Regions from separate parts of the Homo sapiens genome. Here regions 2 and 3 are each linked to region 1. Evidence: promoter capture Hi-C in 16 types of primary human blood cells and fetal thymus (Javierre and others, 2016). All regions are on one chromosome and are shown on one strand. The core of a region is centred on a gene start or on the middle of the fragment in contact, and the rest is flanking DNA. Distances in the headings are between cores, read along the strand shown. Region 1 holds the start of TSPYL4 (TSPY like 4). Region 2 has its middle 15 kb from the start of CALHM6. Region 3 overlaps TRAPPC3L (trafficking protein particle complex subunit 3L).

What was found. Contacts are between HindIII fragments. The CHiCAGO score rates a contact against its expected background, and 5 or more counts as called.
Region 2: a fragment that was not itself captured here is called in contact with the fragment with the promoter of TSPYL4 in region 1 in 2 of 17 cell types (total B cells and monocytes); the score reaches 6.4 in total B cells.
Region 3: a contact is called between a fragment that was not itself captured here and the fragment with the promoter of TSPYL4 in region 1, in 1 of 17 cell types (total B cells). The highest score is 5.2, in total B cells.

The regions. Positions count from the first base shown.
Region 1 is chr6:116,252,488-116,255,554 of GRCh38, forward strand. TSPYL4 (TSPY like 4) reads right to left here and starts at 1,588. Exons shown (of 1, transcript NM_021648.5): 1 at 1-1,588. The coding sequence starts at 1,521. The coding sequence ends at 277. It also overlaps a transcript of DSE not described here. RefSeq lists enhancers at 1,160-1,319, 1,730-1,959. The HindIII fragment of the contact is 9,221 bases long and covers 257-3,067 here.
Region 2 is chr6:116,445,245-116,448,272 of GRCh38, forward strand. No RefSeq gene overlaps it. Among named protein-coding and RNA genes, the nearest start is that of CALHM6, 15 kb to the right of the region's middle. The HindIII fragment of the contact is 2,508 bases long and covers 462-2,969 here.
Region 3 is chr6:116,493,338-116,496,620 of GRCh38, forward strand. TRAPPC3L (trafficking protein particle complex subunit 3L) reads right to left here. Exons shown (of 5, transcript NM_001139444.3): 5 at 1,652-3,283. Among named protein-coding and RNA genes, the nearest start is that of CALHM5, 17 kb to the right of the region's middle. The HindIII fragment of the contact is 2,219 bases long and covers 652-2,870 here.

The sequences.
Region 1 (3,067 bases), core at 338-2,837:
ATCTATAGTATCATACGCTTGGCATAGAAGCCGTAGAAGGCCATGCACTTGAAACATGTTAACACAATGCAGAAAAGCATGAAGGCCCAGAGGAAGAATGGCACAGGCAGGTAAGCCAACAATCTTGCAACCGATTACTGAAGATTTAGAACCAAAGGAAAAGATAATCCACAGTATGAAGAGAAAGCAGATGGAAGACTGCATGCTGTTGGCCAAGCATAGGTCCAAGAGGAGGTGGTAAGGAAACTTGTGCAGAAGCTTCTCACAGGACAGAGATTAGCCAGACTGGAACCTGAAGGATCTGGCGCTCTCCACTGGCTGCCTTGGTGGGCCTCGAATTCCTCTACGGGGCCCTTCACCCATCAGGTAGTATTGTAGGGGATTGGGCCACAGTTCTCCTTTGATAATCTCTGCAATTCTGTCGAATTCTAGAAGGCTGTGGTCTGAAAACCAGTTGAAGAAACTAGGGATAGTGTTCCCTTCCCGGTTTCTGTGGATATGAGCCTGGGGGTCTTGGCCTCGGTGCCAGCGGATTGGAGTGGAAAGAGACACCACCCGGCCAGAGGATCTGCGTTCATATTCCTTGACAAGCCCCTCATTTCGGAAGTAGGGGTTGCCCTGAAAGATGAACTTGAATTTGCAGCCTGCTCTGGGGTGTTTAAGCTCCTCCACCTCCAAATTGATCATGTACCTCAGCATGTCTTCATCTTGGCCACTGATCATAGGTGACAGCTGGGGGTGGTTTCGAAAGGCAGTAACCCAGAAACCTGGGATATTCTGGATAATGAAACTTCTGCGCTGCATGTGGAGCCTTCGCATGCGGCCAAACTTGCGCTCAAGCTGAAGGAAGGCCCTGTCAGCCTGGGCATTTACGTTTGACAACTCTTGATCGATGGCCTCCAGTGAGTCCATGCAGTTATTGATCTTCGGGGCCCTGGGCCGTGTCTCCTCTTTCACCCCTCCTGCCACCTTTTTTTCCTTCTGCACTACCTTCTTTTCCTCCATCGCCGCCCCTGCTTCTCCCTCCTTTTCCACTGCTGCCGAGATGGCGCGTTTTTTAGTCGTCACTTCCTTGGCCTTCTTCCCCGGTATCATCTGAGACCCCAAGCCCCCTGCGCCACAGGCTTCTAGAGCCTTCTGCCCAGCAGGGCCACGGGGCTCTCCAAGCTGACAGCCATTTTTCTGGCTGCTGTCAGCAGCCTCGGCGGCAGAGGCTGCTTCCAGACCTTTCGTAGAAGGTGGAGCATCCTCCTGCCCGGCTTTGGTCGCTGCACCGCCGCGACTCCCGGCAACTGGGACGCGGAGCGCGGGGCCACAGTCGACAGGATCCTGGGATGCACCCCCCTCCGCAACGGTCTCCAGGCTGCCCCCACCTGTGTTCGCCATCACCTGTGTCGCCTCGGTTTCTTCACGGAGCCCTTGGCACTGGTCTCGGTCCGGATCTCCTGAGGCATGGTCGGGAGCAGCCAGGCCGCCGGTTTGGGCGAGAGGGAGCTTGTTGCCCCCATCCAGGCCGCTCATTTTGGAAGAAGTCAGACTAGTGGGAGAGGGAGAGTTCCTTGTCCTCCGCAGCGGCCGAGCTCTGCCCGAAACGTCTAGCACCACCCCTCCTTTACTCTCGGCGGTGCTACCATGGCAACTGGTGATGTCAGGGCGGTAGCGTCGTAACATCGCGCGAGAACTCTCTGCGCGGTTGACTACGCTTATCAATCCATCGTATTCCTTTGTCTTCTTGTCACAAAAAGAATTTCGTCAGTCTGGAAGGGGAGTTTTACTTACGTAAATGGATGTAGACCAGACTCAAGCATGTAAGAACTGTGTTAATGTGGATTTCTAAGCCTCTGAATGAATTTCTAAGGCACCTAACCTATTGTTTCTGAAAATATTTACTTTAAGGTGAGTTACTGTCTATTCAAGTCAGTTCATAGGGCTTCTCCTGAGTAGGAAAGTGGATTCACGAACTCACAGGCCTTCCTTCTTTTAAGGTGTGGATTCATGGCTATTACCAAAGAATTTAAATGAGCAGAGTTTGATTTTAAAGAGAAGTGTTGCTGTGTTGTTATTTTTAAAATTAAGGAGCAGCTGAAAGGCAAACTTCTCTCATCCTAACAAGACATAATAAAGGAATATTTCAATTTGTCTTACAGATTTTAAAGTTTATATAATTTGGCCAACATCTACAAAACAAGTGGACAATATTTCCTCTTCACTTTTAACAAAGAGTAGCAAAATGTTTTTCCTTACGTAGAGGTGACTGGCACACGAGCACAAATTTAGGCTTTTAAGCATTACTGAAAGAAATATCTCAGGGGATTTTAATTTCTAAACTGATGCATATGTTCTTTTCCTCAGGTTACAATCTTAATCTAAAAGTGGTTCCTGCTTCATAATGCCTGTGGACATGAAGCTAACAAATCTTTTCAAAATGTGTTCATGTGGTAATTCACTGCAGCACAGGAGCAATAATCAGCTATGTGCAGGCATCTATGCTACTGTCTCTTAAAATACTTTAAAAGTAAGGTTAGTTATTGTCTATTCGAGTCAGTTAGCTCTTACAATTCATTTGATAGTGATTATCAGTACAATATATTAGTTTGTTGGAGTGTGAGAATAATGGTGTTAATCCTTAGAAAAATGCAAGACCAAAGGGAAATTTAAATTTTGCATATTTATGTTTAATGTCAAATTTATATTCAAATAAACGGTTATGATTATAACTCTTTGTAAAAGAAACTCCATTTTAAGCCCCCCAGATTATGATCACTTTCAAATACAGGCTCAGAAGTACAGATTTAGAGAAAAAGGATTCCTCTTAGAGGAATACATCATATATACTGAGACTTCTAGCGAGGGAAGGAGTGTAGTTCTGGTTCAACTAAGATAAAGTACTGATGAAAGGTCACTGGCAGACAATACGGAGAAACAGCCTGCCTTGCAGGATTTTTTGTATGCCTAGTCAGCCTACCCAAGGACAATGTGTCCAGAATGACCTCTTTACTGCCTGCCAGCTAATCAGTTATCCCATAAGAAATATGCAAACAAGATTCACACAGCAGAGAGCAATTAT
Region 2 (3,028 bases), core at 466-2,965, 190 kb after region 1:
GCCCATAAGAATGCCTTGTGAGTTCATGACACTGTGCAATCGAGAAAGCATAGCCATGCCAGCAAAGCAGACTTCCTAGAGAACATAGGACAATGTGGTGTGGGTGTCAAGGGTGTGGGCAAGCAGTGTGGTTGGGAGGGTTGGTTATTCAGCTGGCTTTTCTGCGACACCTGCACACGTGGAGAGTCAACCATGGCACCTGTTGCCTAGTGCATGTTTTAAGAGTCTTATGGATGATGAGAGGACCTTCGTGAATTCACTACTGAAGATAGGTCATTTTTAATTAAAAAAATTATTTGGATGTCAGAGGAAGAAGTAGGGAATGAAAGAATATAATTCTGTAAAAGAAGTTTTGTTTCTTAAATGGTATGCAATGAGCCCACATGCAGGCTTATTTTATAAAATGTGCTAAAATTCATAAAAACATTGCCTAGTCCAAGTTTACGCCATTATTATGCTAAAGCTTACTAGATAGCAATGATAATAGCAGTCTTACTGAAGCCTAGCAAAGTTTGAAGAAATTTGTACGCATCTGCATACTGTAAGGAAAATAATAGCTACAGCCCCATCTTATAAATTAGGAAGCTAGGTTCAGAGAGGCTAAGAACTGTGACCAGAGACATACAGCCAACAGTAATTATGGATTAGAGCATAAAACTCAAAATAAAACAATGTCTAAACTTGAATTTTAATTATTTAGAGTGCTCAAAATGCTACATTATAATCATTAAAAATACTGAGTTATAAGCATAGTTACATCAAAACTATTAAACTTTCACCATAATTGTTTGCCTTTAATCTCATGAAACTTAAGTGAACAAGCAAAAAAATTGTCAAAGTAGATTATCTTTGTTAAAGATAGACTACTGGGCCAGGTGATGTACCTCACACCTGTAATCCCATACTTTGTGGGGCTGAGGTGGCGGATAGCTTAAGCCCAGGAATTCAAGACCAGCCTGGGCAACATGGTGAAACCCTGTCTCTTCTAAAAATACAAAAATTAGCTGGGTGTGGTGGTGCACGCCTGTAGTGCCAGCTGCTGTGGAGGCTGAGGTGGGAAGATTGCTTGAGTCCCAGGAGGCAGAGGTTGCAGTGAGCCAAGATCAGGCCTCTGCACTCCAGCCTGGGCACAGAGTCAGGTCCTATCTCAAAAAAAAAAAAAAAAAAAAAGACTACTGAACATCCTCACATTTTAGAAATTACTATAACTATTTGTCATAGTTTAGGATCCTGCAGCACAGCCTACAGACATCATAAAATAATCAGTTGCAAAACCAGACTTCTGCTTTTTGTGTCTACTCTCATCTTGCACCCAAACTGTGAGTCACTTTGATTGAGCTTCATAAACATAAAAGCAAATTATTTACTAATATATTTATCTGCAGTCTCCATCTCTTAATTTAGTATTGTTTCCTGGACTTTTAAGACTGTCATAAATGTTTGTGGTTTTTCAGGTGGTTGAAGTGAATGGAGTCATTGTAAAACGCTTTCAATCAGCTGACCAATGCTTTATATAACATAAACCTACTTTATCATCCTCTCCTAAAGAAGAGAAGATTTAGCTAGAATAATTATTAACAGAAGATGTGGAGATACAGAAGAAACTAGAAAATATCTCACAATCAATACATCTTTCAAGCAGTCAATCATTTGTCACTCATATTGCTTTTTTAAACCCAGCTTTACATGGAAGGAATAAATGGAACTCCAGTTTGGTTTTTCTTCTTTTTTTTTTTTTCTGTTAAGGCAGATTTAAAATTTTTTTTGGTTTACTTTTCATTGAATTTTGTCAGTTCTTGGTCGAATGTATGTATGTGTGTGGTTTTTAAAGAGGTCATGCCTGTTTCTTTTTTTTAACGAACTAGAAGTATGTATTATAGCATGTTAGAATTGAAAGGGACCCCAAAGATGATCTAGTTCAGCCTTCCCATTTGACAGTTGAGGAAACACTTTGTTTGGCATTTCTTTACTTTAAGGAAAGTTGGGGCACTGCCAAAATCAACACTGCCTGCTTTGAGTTTTCACTGCTTGTCGGACAAACCTTAGGTTGGGGGATTGGGGGATATATACAAACAGGGACTAAAACAAGCAACATCATGCCGTCAGCCATCAATCTGGTTGTTGTCTTATTCTTCCCCAAAATAATTTCAAGTCAACTATAGACACAAACACTTGAAATGTATTAATTTATTTATTAAATAAAAATGGCTGATATTTTGCTTACTAAAAATCTGATTATTTCTTTGGCTCCTGGTTAGATGAGCAAGTCAAATGTTAACAACCTGAGTACCATCGTCTATAACAAAACAGTGAATCAGCACCCTCTAGCACATTTCTGAGTCACTACTTTTTAAAAAAACCTTTTAAAAAATGTAACTGAAACTAAAATATTCTAAACACTGTGCTGGGTTTTTCATACTATCTCATTTTTAATTCTCATAAAATTGCACAACATAGCTTGAGACAGCTCTGTAAGTAGATAAAGATAATATACAATGTAGTGAGGTCTACTTCGTGTGTGGAAAGAGAGTTGTGGTCAGAGAGCAGCTGACTCTACTGAGGGAAGCAATGATGAATGAGAAGAGGCCCTGGATCCCTGGGAGCTCCCACCATAGTAGGAGAGACAGATCCCTGGAAAGGAATGTTGCAATAGGCATGTCAAGAACTATTGCACAGTTATTTCTTTTTAAATGGTGTGAGAGCAAAAAAAATAGAAATGCTAACTCTGGGGGTTTTGAAGATGACTTGAATGAAGAAGTTACATCAGACTGAGTATTAAAGGAAGAGAGTAGTTTGCCAGGTGAAAAACAGAAATGTCATTTAAGGAAGAAAGAAAAACAAGTGAGAAGGCATGGTATTGAGGAAGACTGTGATGTGTATGCACAGGAAAAGTAAGGGGGTCAGTGGTGCTGGAAACCGGGGTGCATGGGATGAAGTGGGGTGGAGATGTGTGGAGCAAGTCTGGGACAAGCTTCTGTGCCAATGTAGGGATATGGAAGTTGTCCTCTGGAAAACTGGAAGTATTGGA
Region 3 (3,283 bases), core at 511-3,010, 240 kb after region 1:
TTGGGAGGCCAAGGTGGGAGGATCACTTGAGGCCAGGATTTAAGACCAGCCTGAGCAACAAAGCAAGACCTCCATCTCTACCAAAAATAGTAATAATTATATTTATTATGATAGATAATAATAACATTTATTATATTACTATGTTGAAATAAAAATTTTTGGATAATTAAAATAAATGATATATTATTAAAACTAATGTCACCTATTTCTTTTTATTATTTAATATGGCTATAAGAAAATATAAAATTCTATAGGTGGTTCTCATAATTCTAATATATTCAATGCCAAGAGGCTCCCCTCCTTCCACGGTGAGAAAAACAAGGGATGGGGAACAAGCCTCATCCTGAAGCCATCATCAGTTCCTATACCCAGCATCACTGAGCATACCAGATTAAGCTGTCTTCAGCAGGGTGGGGAACAAAGACTTTGGGCCAAGGGACTTTTGATGGTTGGGTTAGGAGAGAAAGAAGAGGAAGGTGTAGACAGGTAGGAGAATACCCCAAGGCCTGGAATATTTTCAGGATAGCTAGTTGGGTGCTAATTTAAGAGGGAGGGCCTTAGGCATGAATATCTTGGGTTCCTGGGAGGAATGCATATATTATAAATGAGAAAGAGGCAACTGAGCAGAAGATGGAAAAAATCCTAAAAAGAAGCTTTAGGATAGAGTGTAGGCAAGAATTCTTATGGAGGCATCAGTTTAAAATACATGACATTGTGATACTCCTTCTAATGTCAGATATCTTCTTCCAGATTCTATTCCTGGTCTTCTGTGGAGCAGGTTTGAAGGTTCTTCCATCGATGCCTCAGCTGTGTGCCAATGACCCTATTTCCTTTATGCCTATTGCAATGTCCTTTTTAAGAGACAGTTGACTAAGTGGAGAACAAACAATTTCCCTGCAGTGTTCTAAAGTCCAAAAATGTAGAATTTCAGTGGTCATTTATATCGTTTAAACTGTACCCATTGGTACAGTTTTAGACATTTATTGCATCCTGATTTTAAAGGGGTGGGGAAAGAGAGAGAGAGAGAGAGACAGAGAGAGAGAGAGAGATTATGTGCCTTGCCCAGGATCAGTCACTACTCAGGATCAGCTGAAGCCCCTAGAAACAGAACTGGACAGGGACTCAGAACAGGCTCCTGAATCCTAATTGACGTCTATCACGAACATATCACTTATACCAGTTTTATTTATTTTGATTATTTTTTAATTTTTATTTTTTTGTGGGTACATAGTAGCTATATTTATTTATGGGGTACATGAGATATTTTCATACAGGCATACAATACATAACAATCACATCGGGTAAATGGGGTATCCATTACCTCAAGCATTTATCTTTTCTGTCACAAACAATCCATTTTTATCTTAATTACTATTAAATGTACAAAAAATTATTATCAACTGTACTTACCCTGTTGCACTGTCAAATACTTGATCTTATTCATTCTTGTACATTTTTTTTTTAAGACAGGGTCTCACTCTGTTGCCCGGATTGGAGGGCAGTGGCACAATCATGGCTCACTGCAGCCTCAACCTCCTGGCCTTAATCAATCCTCCCACTTCAGCCTCCTGAGTAGCTGGGACCACAGGTATGCACTATACATACATATATATATATATATATATTTTTTTTTTTTTTTTTTTTTTTTTGTAGAGACAGGGGTCTATGTTACCCAAGCTGGTCTCAAACTCCTGAGCTCAAGCAATCCTCCCACTTTGGCATCCCAAAGTGCAGAGATTACAGGCTTGTGCCACCATGCCCGACCCAGATCTTATTCATTCTATCTAACTATATTTTTGTACCCATTAACCATCTCCACTCCTCTTGAAACTACCCTTCCCAGCCTCTGATATCCATCATTTTACTCCATATCTCCATGAGTCCACTGTTTTAATTTTTAGCTCCTACAAATAAATGAGAACATGCAAAGTCTGTCTTTCTGTCCTGACATATTTCATTGAACATAATGACCTCTAGTTCCATCCATGTTTTGCAAATGACAGGATCTCATTCTTCTTTATGGCTGAATAGTACTCCATTGTGTATATGTACCATATTTTCTTTATTTCATTAATCTATTGAAGGACACTTAGATTTCTTCCAAATCTTAGCTATCGTCAGTAGTTCTGCAGTAAACATGGGAGTGCAGATATCTCTTTGATATACTGATTTCCTTTATTTTGGGTATATATCCAGCAGTGGGATTGCTGGATCATATGATCATTCTATTTTTTGTTTTTTGAGGAACCTCCAAACCGTTCTCCATAGTGGTTATACTAATTTACATTCCCACCAACAGTGTACCAGAGTTCCCTCTTCTCCACATCTTTGCAAGCATTCACTATTGCCTGTTTTGGATAAAAGCCATTTTTAACTAGGGTGAGATAATATCTCATTATAGTTTTGATTTGCATTTCTCTGATGACCAATGATGTTGAGCACCTTTTCATATACCTGTTTGCCATTTGTATGTGTATGTCTTCTTTTGAGAAATGTCTATTCAGATCTTTTGCCCATCTTTAATTGGATTATTAATTTTAATTTTTTCCTATGGAGTTGGTTGAACTCCTTATATATTCTGGTTATTAATAGCACAAGGGTGTCAGATACATAGTTTACAAATATTTTCTCCAATTCCGTAGGGTGGTATCACACTAATTATAACTTGTACTTGCAATTTGGGCTCTCTGCAGAGCCCAGTAGATTCTGGGCTGCCTTGTAGGCCGCCCTTGTGTGCCAGTGGTCTGGTGAAGATTACTGTGTATTTAATTCGGTACACTTGAATTTTAAATGTGTTCTGGTCACAAAGAAAACATCCTTTGGAAGATTTTTTAGAGGATGAAAATGATAGTAGAAATTCTGAATTAATAAGCTTTGGGGTAAGAAAGTAATTTCAAAGAATATTATTTATCCTTTATTTTAGAAGTTTCCTGGCCTGACCATCAAGCAATATTTCATGAGAAAAGGAAGGAATTTGGTTGATGCCAGCTATATTAAAACTAAATAAATTAAAATTAAATGTTATTTATAAATGTTTCAAAATTATCATTGAATAAATAGCTTGACTTGGTGATTACAAATCAAGGGTAGCGTCAGAAGGCTAAAGCTATAAGCCAAGCTAATACATGAGAAAAATCAAATCATATTTTTTTAGAAATATGGAATTATTTATTTAAGGAATGCAATATACAGTATCTAGAAACTACTGTCTATATATAGGAAACTCTATGCTATATCATTTCATTCTTTTTTTTTCAGCAAAGAGACAAATACACAACTGTTT